5 separate regions of the Homo sapiens genome follow, and regions 1, 3, 4 and 5 are each linked to region 2. Evidence: promoter capture Hi-C in human tissues and cell types (Jung and others, 2019). All regions are on one chromosome and are shown on one strand. Each heading gives the region's core, a stretch centred on a gene start or on the middle of the fragment in contact. The rest is flanking DNA. Distances are from core to core; before and after follow the strand shown. Region 1 holds the start of CTSK (cathepsin K). Region 2 holds the start of LYSMD1 (LysM domain containing 1). Region 3 holds the start of GOLPH3L (golgi phosphoprotein 3 like). Region 4 overlaps CTXND2 (cortexin domain containing 2). Region 5 overlaps ARNT (aryl hydrocarbon receptor nuclear translocator).

Region 1 (2,700 bases), core at 1-2,500, 360 kb after region 2:
AGCTTCCCAAGTAGCTGGCACTACAGGTGTGTGCCACCATGCCCAGCTAATTTTTGTGTTTTTTTTTTTTAGTAGAGATGGGGTTTCACTATATGTTGGCCAGGCTAGTCTCGAACTCCTGACCTTAGGTGATCCACATGCTTTGGCCTCCCAAAGGCCTGGGATTACAGGCGTGAACCACTGCGCCTAGCCTGTTAGCAGCTCTTAAAATCCAGAGGCATAAGCCTGTATTTTTGAGGGTTTATGCATGGAATCCAGCTAGAAACTGAGTCTATTACAGATCCCATTTATTATCCTTTCTATTCCAAGAAGCCTTTTTTTCTCCTTCCCCACATCTGTTTATGGAAGAAAATGAAGTTTGGGGTGTGGTTTGAGGAATCAGCTAGATTCTTATGATCTGTCACATGCTTGGATGTTGGGGAAGCATTTGGAGAAGCTCATGTGACTTGTCCTAGATTGGGGATTTTAATTGAGACAGATGATGTTTATCGGGCATCCCACCACCTGAGAGTTTTAGCAACAGAGTCACATGTGAGTCCATCAGAACTTACGGCATTGATTCAAGTGCTGTCATAAATAACCAGGACTGCTGTTTTTGGTTACTTTTAAAGACAGTTTCATCTGGACTTTCTGGGCATATCCTCCTTCAGCAAAACCACATTAGGCTGGGAAAACTATTCTGCCTGGAAGTAATGACAACTTGCAACCAACAAGCTTATAAAAATACAAAGAATTCTGGAGCCTATGGCTTCCATTACATTATTCTTTTATAGCCTTTTATGTTCATTACCGCATCCCAGAGGTGAGAGTCAGACACAAATATGAAAATAGGTTTCAATGTTGGAGAGGTAAATCCTAACAGGAAAGGGGTAGGAAAAGATATAATCCCCCAATATTAAAATAAAGATATTGAAGAAGAAGGATGGGAGAGACTAGGGCTGTGTCCTTCCTTTTACTCACCAAAAGAGAAAGTAAGCTCCTATTTGAGTCAATAGATATTGAGGTCTTGTTATTTGCCACCAAAGACAGTCTTGTGAGACTAAATAGCTAGTAATTCCCTACCCTGGCACACATGCTGCATACACACAGAAACACTGCAAATCCACTGCCTCCTTCCCTCCTCCCTACCCTTCCTTCTCTCAGCATTTCTATCCCCGCCTCCTCCTCTTACCCAAATTTTCCAGCCGATCACTGGAGCTGACTTCCGCAATCCCGATGGAATAAATCTAGCACCCCTGATGGTGTGCCCACACTTTGCTGCCGAAACGAAGCCAGACAACAGATTTCCATCAGCAGGTAACGTTTGCAACTTCCTAGATCTTTTAGCTTTTCATTCCTGTCAATTCTCTGAGTATTAGGGATGTAGTGACTTGAGGATCACAATAAACTTTTAGCCTCTGCAGATGAAAACAGAGATGCACTTCTTAGGTCATTCCCTGGCTAAATAAAATCTGCCTGGAAATCTGTAGAATTCCTTGTATGATTTATATATATACATACATGATTGTTAGTAAAAGCAAAGTATATAGGGAATCATTTCCCCATCCTTCAAGAGTGGCCTTTCTGCAGTGTTTTCTACTTTGGCCAACAAGGATCAAAACGGTTAACTCCTTAGTGAGGAGGAGGAGAGTGGTATGGGGAGGTAGTAGCTCAGTGCTTCCTGTTCACTGAGACATCTCAAAGCCCTTAACACTCTAGTTTTTAAATGTCCTACTGGACATTTTGCCAGTTTGCAAAATTACATGTAAATGGACTATAAGCAATTGTGTAAGCCATATGTCATGCTGCAGGCTGCAAATTGTTCTTAAAATGGAGGATTTGTAATTAAGAAAGCCAATGCAAGAAATGAGTGAAGCTAACTAGAGTAAACTTATGAAAAGCTGTGAATTTCATCATCATAGAACATTGCTTTTCAGTCTGAACATTCTTCTAACAAACCTTGGATCTGAGGCTTCTTGTCCTTTGCGGCAGCCACAGTGGGTTTTTGTTGTTAGGGGAAAAATAAAAAACCTTGCCCGCAGCATCTGGTTAAGATTAGGGCAGTTTCCTGCCTAAGGAGGGAAGGGAGAGAAAAAGGAAGAAGAAATGCATAAGGAGAATGAGGAGATATACAATGTCTCAGAAAACAGGAAACATTGTCCTATTTTCCCTTGTCCTCTTCTGACAAGATCTGGGAAAGTACCAGAATTTAGGCACGAAAGAGAAGAACGCCTCGAAGAAATGATCAGGAGGCAAAACTTAGACGGAAATCTCTCCTTTGTGTATTCTGAACCCCACTACCACCTTGCTATTTGTCTGTCTCCAAGCCTGCTAGGGACCCTGGAGGAAACGCACTGAGCCCATTCTGATTGTCCAGTTTCTATCCCCCATTTCTGGTTGTGTACGTGTGTGTGTGTGTGTGTGTGTGTGTGTGTGTGTGTGTGTGTGTGAGAGAGAGAGAGACAGAGAGAGAAACAGAGAGAGTGTGTGTTGCCTAAATCTCCCGAGAGAGAGAGAGAGAGAGAAAGAGAGAAATGGCTAAATCCCCCTAGATCAAAGTCCTTGGAACCAGATGTACCAGCATCCTATCTAAACACAGGCCCCTCCTGACTATCATTGTTTTATCACCCTTTTTCCGTCTACCTTTCTCTTCCTCATAAAGCCTAGTTTTCCTCTGTTTCCCTGCCAAATGGAAGAGTTTTCCCTAACTACATTCTTCTG
Region 2 (2,730 bases), core at 121-2,620:
CTGGTGTGTGCAGCAGGGTCTTGCCTAGAACACACTCTCCACTCTCTGATTACCTCAGCTTTGGTTTCTTCCCTTCTCAATTCATTCTGATGTTTTGGATTCTGCTTTCTTTCCTTTCCCGGCTGCTTCTTGCCATAGAAAAGCTGCAAGCCTGAGGAGAAAGGGAAACAGAATTAAAAGCATAGCACCAAGAGTGGTGTGCAGAGATTTCGAGGGTTTATTCCCCATCCCGTCTTCCCCCTAACTTACTGGACAGATGTTTCTTGCCTGCACGGTGGGCAGTCAGCATGGCCAGGGTGTCCAGTACCGGTCGATGGGGGCAGATGGCACAAGCAAAGCTGAGCAGGGGTAGAGAAGAGGATAAGTGGTCCAGGGGAAGAGGGTTGGGCCCGTCCCTGCCATAGGTCCCACCCTGTCCTAGCAGTCTTTGCAAAACCCAACTCCCTGGTGACCCAATCTCCACTTCTTCCAGTCCTCACTGGCCGCCAAAGAATCCTAGGTACTCCTGCTGTCCTAATTAATAACAAAAGTTTGTTGAAGCCAGGCGTGGTGGCATGCGCTTGTAAACCCAGCTAATCGCGACGCTGAGGAGGCAGGATCACTTGAGCCCTAGAGTTCGAGGGCAGCCTGGGCAGCACCGCGAGACCTCCGTCTCAAAGGAAAAAAAAAAAAAAGTCTATTGAGCCTCTAACCGCAGAACCCTCAGGCTTGAGCCACTCCTTGCTCTTACCGTCCATCCCGAAGCATCAGCGCCTCATCCTCTGGAATGTAACTGGCTAGGAGGTCCCCGACTCTTCTTTTCTGCAGGGAGTAGGGGAAGAAATCCGGACGGGATCAGCGGGATAGGAGAGAGGGGTGGAAGTGAAATTATAGAAATGAGGAGTGAAATGGAATAAGGACCCTGGGGAGAACAGCGATCATAGACCGAAAAAGGAGTCACTACACAGCTCTAAGTCGCCTGGTTCTCTCCTGCACCCCCGAGTTGTTGCCAGAGCAATGAAACAAAGCTCCTTCCCAACCTTCAGGGAGCGACTGAAGCGGCTCCAGATCCTCTCCGCTCACGCTTACTTTGAGCACATTGAGTTGACTCCAATCGTCTCCTTCCCTCTTGAAAGACATCACGACTGTGAGTCCCAGAAGTGATAAATTCTCTGTTCCGGTTTCGCCACTCCTCCAGGCCACCGTAGCAAGAGCGGGACAGCGCCTTCTCTTTTTTCCTTCTCTTCCTGTCGGCCTCCGTACTTCCGGGGACGCACTTCCACGCATGCATTGCGCGATCCGGAAATCCACTCTCTGGTGCTCGGAGGGAACTGCATTTCCTATGGTGCCCTGCGACTCCGCAGACGCGGAGCCTTTTGGGAAATGAAGTCTTTTCTCAAAGACCTTGCCGCTCAACTGGATCCAGGCCCTTGCATCTTGGCGGATCTGAGGCGTTTGGAGGGACAACAACCTAGATGTGGAGCCGAAATTTGAGGGTGTGACCTATCTTATGCGGAGCGGACCTTTGAGGATCTCTGAGTGGAAGGTGTACTACAAATTCTTGCAATCCTCACGCTCTTCGTCTGCGGCGACAGTTCACCTGGGGTGGGCCTGATTTGTTCCTGACTCTAGCAAACAAACCCCGGGACCGGGGAGAGCTGGGATGTTGGAGCGCCCTGAGGCCAGGCTACTTGGGGGCAAACTGAGGAAAGAGTGTTGAGGATTATTTCTAGAGTTCAAAGGTCAGAGGTCAATGTAGCGAGGAGTTGTGGGGGAGTCCAAAGTCGGAGGGGTGCTTAGGGGAGAATTAGGGAGGGACTGAATACTCAAGGGACAGATTTGTGGATAAGTAGCTTGGAGGGAGGAGAAACCGGGAGGGGGCAGATGGCGTAGTGCTGGGGAGGCGGGGACACAGGGGAAGAGAGAGGGGGAAAGGAATCCCCTGAATATTCATTCCCAGACTTCAGGCCTGTCAGTCGCAGTCTCGGTCGTACCTCCCCTAGTTGCAACCTTAGCTGTTGGCAGGGTGAAGAGATGGCTTCCCCGTCTAGACAGCCCCCGCCAGGGGGGTCAGGACTGCTTCAAGGGAGCCGGGCTCGTTCATATGGAAGCCTGGTGCAATCGGCCTGCTCCCCAGTGAGGGAAAGACGCCTGGAGCATCAGTTGGAGCCCGGAGACACCCTGGCTGGACTAGCACTCAAATATGGGGTGACGGTGAGTTTTCCAGGATTGGGGTGAAGACAACAGTCAGGAGGGATTTAGTCCTGAGAAGAATGTAGTGGCCCTTCTAGGTAACCTCCCCTGAAATGTTCCTAATGTGTTGCACTCTGTTCTGCCTTTATCTTTGTTTTCCCATCACAGTGTTGCACAAGTCCTGCCCTACTATTCCAACGGAGAGGAACAGCTCCTATTTTATTATGCCAGACACTGTGCTGAGGGCTTCACATACGTTAGCTCATTTCACCCTCACATCTGTATCAAGTATACATTTATCGTTCCCTTTTGGCAGATGAAGAAACTGAGACTTGGATTGGTTAACCAGTTTGGCTAAGGTCAAATAATGAGCGTCAGATTTGGGATTCAAACAGGTCTGTCTGACTCTATTAACCACACAGAAAATTTTATGTTGAGAGTGATTAAACGTTTACAGCAACTAATGGAGAGCTGATTTTTAGTTCTCAGTTCCTAAAGTGCCCACCTCTCCTTGCTCTTGGTTCCTCCTCAATGCTCTGCCTTCTTTCCAGTAAGGTG
Region 3 (2,700 bases), core at 172-2,671, 470 kb after region 2:
CTGAAGATGTATATGTAGTTTAAAGCAGTTTGTACACTAAAACTAAGTTTTTGGCTGACTGTCATATTGTGGTCCTTAATCTTGAGATAAATCCAATAGAACTTTTGAATAAAAGCAAAAGTACAAATGTCATAATTGATTCGGTAATAAGTAAAATTTCAAAATTGATTTTGTTCATTACCTACTTAATATTTCCTTTAAATATATACTAACTGTTAAGGCCCTCTAATGCCATTTTTCTAAACAGTAATGTTTACTTTGGTATTAAAATTTGGTATGGATTCACTTTTTACTTATGTTAAAATTATACCATTTAACTGGCTCTTTTGTCATTGTGCTGTTATTAAAACAATGTTCTTCAATATTTTGACATAATGTATTAACATTTTAATATATAATGTACAATTTAAGAATTGGTGCTTTACCTTTACTATGCTTTTTTTTACAGGACAAAAAGACTGATTTTTAAAGTATGGCATTTTTTGCAGCATAAATAAAATATTGTTCAGTACGTAGGCCCTTTTATCGCTTCTAATTTTTATTTAAGTAGCAGGAAATATGGCTTCATTCATTTGAAAGGCTGGTAGGAGGATGGGGGGATAGGGAATACTAATTTTTAGATGATTTCGGTAGCTATTACTTTGCAAGAAGAGTTGAGCACACTTTCTAGAATTTTTGAGTGGTAGTATGAAAAATGCTGTGCTTTTAATGAGAAACCTGGGAGCTAGTTCCAGCCTTGCCTGCTTTCTTTGCTTTAGAAAAAGGAAGACTTAAAACTTGGTCTGTTTGCCGCTTGTAGTTTCAGCAGCCATATTCCAAAAACATACACATCCATGGGTTTGTCAGTAATAAGCGCTATAGGGAATGCTGGTACATATGCGATGGTAGAAATGTATTCATCCTGTTTAAGGTAAACCATATAAACGTACACAAACTGACCCAGATCATGTTTTTCTGGAACAGTCAAGTCAAGGATAAACTGACTGTCAGAAACAACCAATGTAAAAATATTTATTTATTTTTAGCTGTATTGCTTGGATCCCAACACATCTCACTTAATTGTCCCAGTATACGCTACTACAGCAACACACCTGCTACGCTGAAATTAACCCACAGAAACCTTTCGAGATTGGCAGCCCATGTTAGCTCACTCAGCGCTTTGATTGGCTGGTTTAATGGGGGTGGGGAGCGCAGCCCTCTTTCCTCTCTTCCACCAAGGTTCCTTCATTGGATTGACCAGCTGTCAGGTTGAACGCAAACCTGCCTCCTTTTGGTGGTGTTTGTCTGGATCGCAACAGAATAGCTGGGGGAGAGCCTCCCCCTGTGAGCTCCGATTGGCGGGACTCAACCTTGGTGATTTCTGATTGGCGCAATGAAGAAACACCAAGGTAGGTTGCCTAGTGATCCTGAGGAAGCTGATGTGTTATTCCTTCTCTGCATCGAAGGATCAGGAAGTTTGTGCTCTCTGCGTGGCTAAGTTTTTCACCTACTAGGACGGGGGTGGGGTGGGGAGAACAGGTGTCCTTCTAAAATACAGCACAAGCTACAGCCTGCGTCCAGCCATAACCCAGGAGTAACATCAGGTAAGCAACGAGAAAATTACATTTCCTAACGTCCCTTCCCCCCACCAAAAAAAACCTCTATTTTTTAAAATTATTATTTTATGGGAGGGAAAGGTTTGTATTCATTTGGGCCATTTGTTTTCTTTCAAGTAGGATTTTTAACTAGTAAATGTGCAGATGAAACTAATTTCTCAAAGAAACCGCCCCCTCTCCCCCTCCCCCCCTGCCCCGCGAAGGTTTAAAGTTTCTTGGATTGGTTTAGGAAATAGTCCCTATTCACAGTGCCAGATAGGCTTAGTGCGCTTAAGAATTTATTTCATGGTTCTCTTCCTCCTTCACTTTTCTTCCCACCTCCCATAACAAATTATATTTGAAATATACCCTTGTACAAAAAAACTTTTGTAGCTCACTTCATTTGTATTTCTATTTTAAATGTTCACATGCACTTCTGAGTATTCATTTTAATCAATATAAATTTATCGAGCAATAACAATGTTAAAGACAGTGCTAGTTGCTATGGAGAATATATAAACCCAAGAAGACAATATCCCTGTTCTTAAGAAGTTTACAGTTGAGAGACAGCTATACCAAGAGAAAGACTATAATAAATACTTTAAAGGAAGTGAGTATAAATAAAGCTCTGTGAAACAGCTGAGGGAGTGGCCATGAGACACATAGGTAATAGAAAAGAGGAGGTCACTTAAAGGCCTTCACAAGGCCTTTAAAGAATGGGTAGAATGTAAAGAGGAAGAGAAAAGGGTGAAGACCCCAGCAAGTACAGAGGAGCAGAAGCAGAAAGAAAGCATGAGACATTTTTGAGAAAAAGTCTGGCAACACTACTTATTAGGAGCAATGGGAAATATTGCTAGAGGAGTAGAAACGAGTCCAGTCATAGCAACTCTTAAATACCATTATTTTGATCTTGAAAAAGATACTCCTTTATATAATTGCTGATTTAAAATATTTGTTATATATTATCTTAAAAACTGATATCTAGATTTATATAAAATAAAGTATGCTAACTATAAACTTTATCACAAATGATTTAGTGCAGTTTCTTTTGACCGTAGTACATAGAATAAAAGACATGTTCTTTGACTTTTTTTTTTAAATTGAGAAAATTTGTTAATCTTTCAAC
Region 4 (2,700 bases), core at 17-2,516, 260 kb after region 2:
GCCTGGGTGACAGATGGAGACCCGTCTCAAAAAAAAAAAAAAAGAAAAAAAAAAAACAGAAAAAAGAAAAAGAAATTGACCTTCTGGTCTTAAAGCTTAAAACTTACATTTGTTTTATGTTGAGTTCCTTCTTCAGGAAAGGGCCACCAGGCCTCTCAAAAAAAGTATCAAGGAACTGAAACTCAACCAGATCATCCCATCCTGACAATGAAGTGCAAGACCCCTCATTGGTCACAAGTGCTTTCTTGGCCTCCTGAGTTCCTGTTTTCCTACACATTGTTACATTTCTTCCTTGCTATATAAACCTCTAATTTTAGTTGGTCAGGGAGATGGATTTGTGACTGAGTTCCGGTTTCCTCTGCTGCAGCACCTGAGTAAAGCCTTCTTCTTTGGCAATACCTGTCATCTCAGGGGCAGGTATTGCTCATCTTTCTGTGTGGTGAGCAGCAGGACCTAGACCGAACTCCTGGTGTTTTGGTAACAATTTCACACCACATACAAAGATAAACTTAAAATGGATCAAAGACCTAAATGTAAGGATTCTTAGATATGACAGCAAAATCACGAGCAACAAAAAAGAGAGAAACTGGACTTCATCAAAATTTAAAACTTTTTTCTTTGAGACAGGGTCTCACTTTGTCACCCAGGCTGGAGTGCTATGGTGCCGTCTGGGGTCACTGCAGCCTCGACCTCCCAGGCTAAATTGATCCTCCCATCTCAACCTTCCAAGTAGCTGGGACTACAGGTGCACGTCATCATGCCCGGCTAATTGTTTTTTGTTTGTTTGTTTTGGTAGAGATGGAGTTTCACCATGTTGCCCAGGCTGGTCTCAAACTCCTGGGCTCAAGAGATCTGCCCTCCTTAGCCTCCCAAAGTGTTAGGATTGTATGAGCTACTGTGCCTGGTCAACACTTTTGTACTTTTTTTTTTTTTTTTTTTGAGAAGGAGTCTTGCTCTGTCGCCCAGGCTGGAGGGCAATGGCGTGATCTCGGCTCACTGCAACCTCTGCCTCCCAGGTTCAAGCGATTCTCCTGCCTCACCCTCCCGAGTAGCTGGGATTATAGGCGCCCCCACCATGCCCGGCTACGTTTTGTATTTTTAGTAGAGTCGGGTTTCACCATGTTGGCCAGGCTGGGCTCAAACTCCTGACCTCAGGTGATCTGCCCCCCTTGGCCTCCCAAAGTGCTGGGATTACAGGCGTGACCCACTGCGCCCAGCCAACTTTTGTACTTTAAGAAGCTTATTATCAAGAAAATGGGCTGGGCACGGTGGCTTATGCCTGACCAGCACTTTGGGAGGATGAGGTGGGAGGATCACTTGAGGTCAGGAGTTTGAGACCAGCCTGGGTAGTAAGGAGATACCTTGTTTCTTAATTTTTTTTTTTTTAATTAGCTAGGTGTGTGGCATATGTGTGTGGTCCTAGCTACTGGAGAGGCTGAGGCAGAAGGATCCTTTGAGCCCAGGAGTTCAGGGTTATAGTGAGCTATGATCGCACCACTGTACTCCAGCCTGGGTGACGGAGAGAGACCTGATAACCAAAGTTACAACGAAACAATGAAAAGACAACTCAATTAAAAATTAGGCAAAGGATATGAATAGAAATTTCTTTTTCTGCATAAGGAAGATATGCAAATGGCCAATAAACACATTTTTTAAATGGTCAACGTAATTAGTCATCAGGGAAATGGAAATCAAAACTTTGAGATACCACTTCACACCCACTAGGATGACTAGAATCAAGTCAGATTAAGTGTTGACAAAGGTAGAAAGTAATTGAAACCCTCATTGACGGTTGGTGGGAATGTAAAGTGGCAAAGTTACTTTGGAAAACAGTCTGGAAGTTCCTAAAATTATGAAACATAAGAGTTACTGGCCAGGTATGGTGGCTCACGCCTATAATCCCAGCACTTTGGGCAGCCAAGGTGGGTGGAGGATCACTTTAGTCCAGGAGTTCAAGACCAGCCTGGGCAACATGGCAAACCTTCCTCTCTACAGAAAATACAAAAATTAGTTAGATGTGATGGCGCACACCTGTAATCCCAGCTACTTGGGGGGCAGAGGCGGGAGGATCACCTGAGCCTGGGAGGCTGCAGTGAGCTTTGATCATGCCACCATACTCCAGCCTGAGTGACAGAGTGAGACACTGTCTAAAAAAAAAAAAAAAAGCTGGCTGGGCACGGTGGCTCACGCCTGTAATCCCAGCACTTTGGGAGGCCAAGGCGGGTGGATCACAAGGTTAGGAGATCAAGACCATCCTGGCTAACACGGTGAAACCCCATCTCTACTAAAAATACAAAAAATTAGCCGGGCGTGGTGGCAGGTGCCTGTAGTCCCAGCTACTCGGGAGGCTGAGGCAGGAGAATGGCGTGAACCTGGGAGGCGGAGCTTGCGGTGAGCCAAGATTGCGCCACTGCACTCCAGCCTGGGTGAGAGTGCGAGACTCCGTCTCAAAAAAAAAAAAAAAAAAAAAAAGCCACCATATGACGCAGCAATTCCACTCCTATGGCTGTCCCCAGGAGAAATGAAAACATGTGACCACACAAAAACTTATACAAGAATGTTTGTAGCAGCATTATTCATCATAGCCAAAAGGTAGAAACAACTCAAATGTCCATCAACTTATAAATGGATAAGCAAAGTGTGGTATGTCTACACAATAGACTATTATTGGCCATAAAAAGGAAGTACATACTACTTGGA
Region 5 (2,700 bases), core at 16-2,515, 330 kb after region 2:
AAGACTTGAACAAAGGAAAGGAAGTCTGAAACAGAAGAGGAAGCAAAAATTGGAGTACAGTCTCATAGAAGAAGGTAGGGAAAAATAAAATTTAAAGGATAAGATGGACGACATTGTCACATTCTGCAGAGAGGTTGAATAAAGTGATGAAGACCCAGGAAAAGGGACTTGAATTGGTAATTAGGAGGACATTAGTAACCTCATTAAAAATATATGTATGCTGTTCCTGGCAGAACAAAAACCAAACCAAACAGGAAAACAGTAGTTTAGAGTGAGAGTGAAGTGGGATTGAGAAATAATTGAAAGGTAAGAGGATAAAGCCAGTGAATATAACATTATTCTTAGTATAAGCTTGCTGCTGAAAAAGAGAGATGAGGTGGGTCAAACTGAGGGAAGATTTATCTAGAATTGAGAAAACTTGATCATTTTTATAGGCCTGAAGGGAAAGAGAGAAAGTGGGAATATTTGTCAAGCAAGATCCTAAAAAGAGACCAGAGAGGATGGAATTAAGAAGTCAATTATTGTTCATGGTAAGCCTTTTTTTTTTTGAGACAGGGTCTCTTGCTCTGTCGCTCAGGCTGGAGTGTGGTGGTATGATCTCGGCTCACTGCAACCTCTGCTTCCCAGGCTCAGGTGATCCTCCCACCTCAGCCTCCGGAGTAGCTGGGACTACAGGCGTGTGCCACCACACCTGGCTAGTTTTGTTTTTGTTTTTGTTTTGTTTTGTTTTGTTTGTTTGTAAAGATGGAGTTTCGCCCCATTGCCTAGGCTGGTCTTGAACTCCTGGACTCAGTGACCCTCCCACTTTGACCTCCCAAAGTGCTGGGATTACCGGCGGGAGCCGCTGTGCCTAGCCCAAGCCTTTTTATTCTTCTTGAATCCTGAGATAGAGAGGAAGAGGTGGATAGTGACATAGAGAAAGTGAGGAAACATGTATTAGAAAAAACTTTCTTATCGATGAACTACATTTAGGGTGGAAACCTGTGGCTGTGGATCAGGTGTGAACCAGCAGTTGCTTACGGAGAGATGCATGTGGCCTGAAGTGTCTTACTTCTTCCTGTGAATAGAAATACTTGTTTTTTCAGAGTAAAATATTAACTTCTATTTCTTTTTCTTGCGCAGGAACTGAAACATTTGATCTTGGAGGCAGCAGATGGCTTTCTGTTTATTGTCTCATGTGAGACAGGCAGGGTGGTGTATGTGTCTGACTCCGTGACTCCTGTTTTGAACCAGCCACAGTCTGAATGGTTTGGCAGCACACTCTATGATCAGGTGCACCCAGATGATGTGGATAAACTTCGTGAGCAGCTTTCCACTTCAGAAAATGCCCTGACAGGTGAGAGTTATGTGTATGGGAAATGAATGAGAAGTCCTTTCTTGTTTTTTTCCTGAGACTTAAGAGATGTTTTAGCTGTTAAATTGGTTTGTTGACTCTGGCAAGGCTTCAAGAATTTTCTACTTTAATGAATATAGTCAGTTCTTTTTATCCATATGAGATTATCTACTTTGTGGCTCAGCCTTAGAAAATATTTCATTGGTGATAATATTTTACATTTATCTTAATATTGGTATAAATAGAACAGTAAAAGCCAAACCTACAATACTTTTTTTTTTCCGTTCTAAAAGAATTATCCATGTTTTTATCTCATTTGTATGGATAATTATCTGGTATTTTTTCTACCTCCTGGTGCTTGGCTTTGTGCTAGGTTCAATGATAACAGCTTTTTATTCTATAGATATGGTTATTGGTCAATGTATAAGGTGTTTTCTGTTGTTGTTGTTGTTGTTGTTTGTATCTGTACTGTTGTTCTTTTTTTCTCCCCTATTTTATTATGTTCAGTCTTTTGGCCAGAGTTTGGCTAGAGGAAACAAGTCATATCTATTCTTGAGCAACTCTAGAAAAAAATTTAAAGTGGAAGCAGATAAAAAAACTGGTAGTTAAAATGCAAGAAATTTCAATATACTCATATTAGTGTTGTTGATCTTTAGTTTTCCTCCTTTTTTCCCACCCAAAAAAGAGACAGGGTCTCTCTCTTGCCTAGGCTGGAGTACGGTGGCACATCATAGCTTACTGTAATCTTGAACTCTTCTGGGCTCAGTAATCTGCCTGCTTACAGCTTCTTGAGTAGCTAGGAGTAGTTCATGTCACCACACTTGACCAATTTTTAAATTTTTTGTAGAGACAGGTTCTGTCTGTTGCCCAGACTGGTCTCAAACTCCTGGCCTTCAGCATTCCTCCTCCCATCTTGGCTTCTCAAAGGGCTGGGATTATCGGCATGAGCCACCACACTTGACCAGTTTTCCCCTCCTTTATGTTTTTATGATTTCATTTTTCTAGTTCTTCCTTTTCCCCAAAAGTTGTTCTTCGTTTCTGTATAATAAAGAAGACAAACAGATCTATATGTTTCTATAACATATAAAATTACTTGGTTTTTTTCTTTTTAAAATTTTTTCTTTTTATTCTTTTTTTTTTTTTTGAGACAAGGTCTTGCTTTATTGCTGAGGCTAGAGTACAGTGACTCTTCACAGGCACAGTCATAGCACACTACAGCCTCAAACTCCTGCCCTCAAGCAGTCCTCCTGCCTCAGCCTCCTGATTAGCTGGGACTACAGAAAAGTACTTGTTTTTCAACCAATGACATTTACTCTGTATGTATGTCTGTATGTGTATACAGATAATCAGCTATGAGAATATAGCCT

The links. The method cuts DNA at HindIII sites, captures the fragments that hold promoters and counts their contacts. A contact is called where the count stands out against the background at its distance.
Region 1: a contact is called between the fragment with the promoter of CTSK here and the fragment with the promoter of LYSMD1 in region 2, in 2 of the 25 tissues and cell types used here (aorta and liver).
Region 3: the fragment with the promoter of GOLPH3L here is called in contact with the fragment with the promoter of LYSMD1 in region 2 in 1 of the 25 tissues and cell types used here (lymphoblastoid cells).
Region 4: a contact is called between a fragment that was not itself captured here and the fragment with the promoter of LYSMD1 in region 2, in 2 of the 25 tissues and cell types used here (liver and spleen).
Region 5: a contact is called between a fragment that was not itself captured here and the fragment with the promoter of LYSMD1 in region 2, in 1 of the 25 tissues and cell types used here (liver).

The regions. Positions count from the first base shown.
Region 1 is chr1:150,806,810-150,809,509 of GRCh38, reverse strand. It overlaps CTSK (cathepsin K), which reads left to right and starts at 1,250. Exons shown (of 8, transcript NM_000396.4): 1 at 1,250-1,296. The HindIII fragment of the contact is 16,762 bases long and covers 32-2,700 here.
Region 2 is chr1:151,164,542-151,167,271 of GRCh38, reverse strand. It overlaps LYSMD1 (LysM domain containing 1), which reads left to right and starts at 1,370. Exons shown (of 3, transcript NM_212551.5): 1 at 1,370-2,193. The coding sequence starts at 2,014. TNFAIP8L2-SCNM1 (TNFAIP8L2-SCNM1 readthrough) reads right to left here. Exons shown (of 7, transcript NR_144937.2): 2 at 731-801; 3 at 250-338; 4 at 54-151. It overlaps SCNM1 (sodium channel modifier 1), which reads right to left and starts at 1,128. Exons shown (of 7, transcript NM_024041.4): 1 at 1,069-1,128; 2 at 731-801; 3 at 250-338; 4 at 54-151. The coding sequence starts at 1,119. RefSeq lists enhancers at 1,080-1,129, 476-1,182, 1,150-1,429, 1,183-1,888. The HindIII fragment of the contact is 12,820 bases long and covers 1-2,730 here.
Region 3 is chr1:150,695,875-150,698,574 of GRCh38, reverse strand. GOLPH3L (golgi phosphoprotein 3 like) reads left to right here and starts at 1,421. Exons shown (of 5, transcript NM_018178.6): 1 at 1,421-1,583. It overlaps HORMAD1 (HORMA domain containing 1), which reads left to right. Exons shown (of 15, transcript NM_032132.5): 15 at 1-515. The HindIII fragment of the contact is 17,441 bases long and covers 1-2,700 here.
Region 4 is chr1:150,907,477-150,910,176 of GRCh38, reverse strand. All of the region lies in intron 1 of CTXND2 (cortexin domain containing 2), which reads right to left. The region is part of intron 1 of LOC107985204 (a long non-coding RNA gene); the gene reads left to right. Among named protein-coding and RNA genes, the nearest start is that of SETDB1, 18 kb to the left of the region's middle. The HindIII fragment of the contact is 6,057 bases long and covers 1-2,700 here.
Region 5 is chr1:150,834,916-150,837,615 of GRCh38, reverse strand. ARNT (aryl hydrocarbon receptor nuclear translocator) reads left to right here. Exons shown (of 22, transcript NM_001668.4): 7 at 1,123-1,336. Among named protein-coding and RNA genes, the nearest start is that of CTSK, 28 kb to the right of the region's middle. RefSeq lists a cis regulatory region at 1,203 and an enhancer at 1,131-1,275. The HindIII fragment of the contact is 8,676 bases long and covers 1-2,700 here.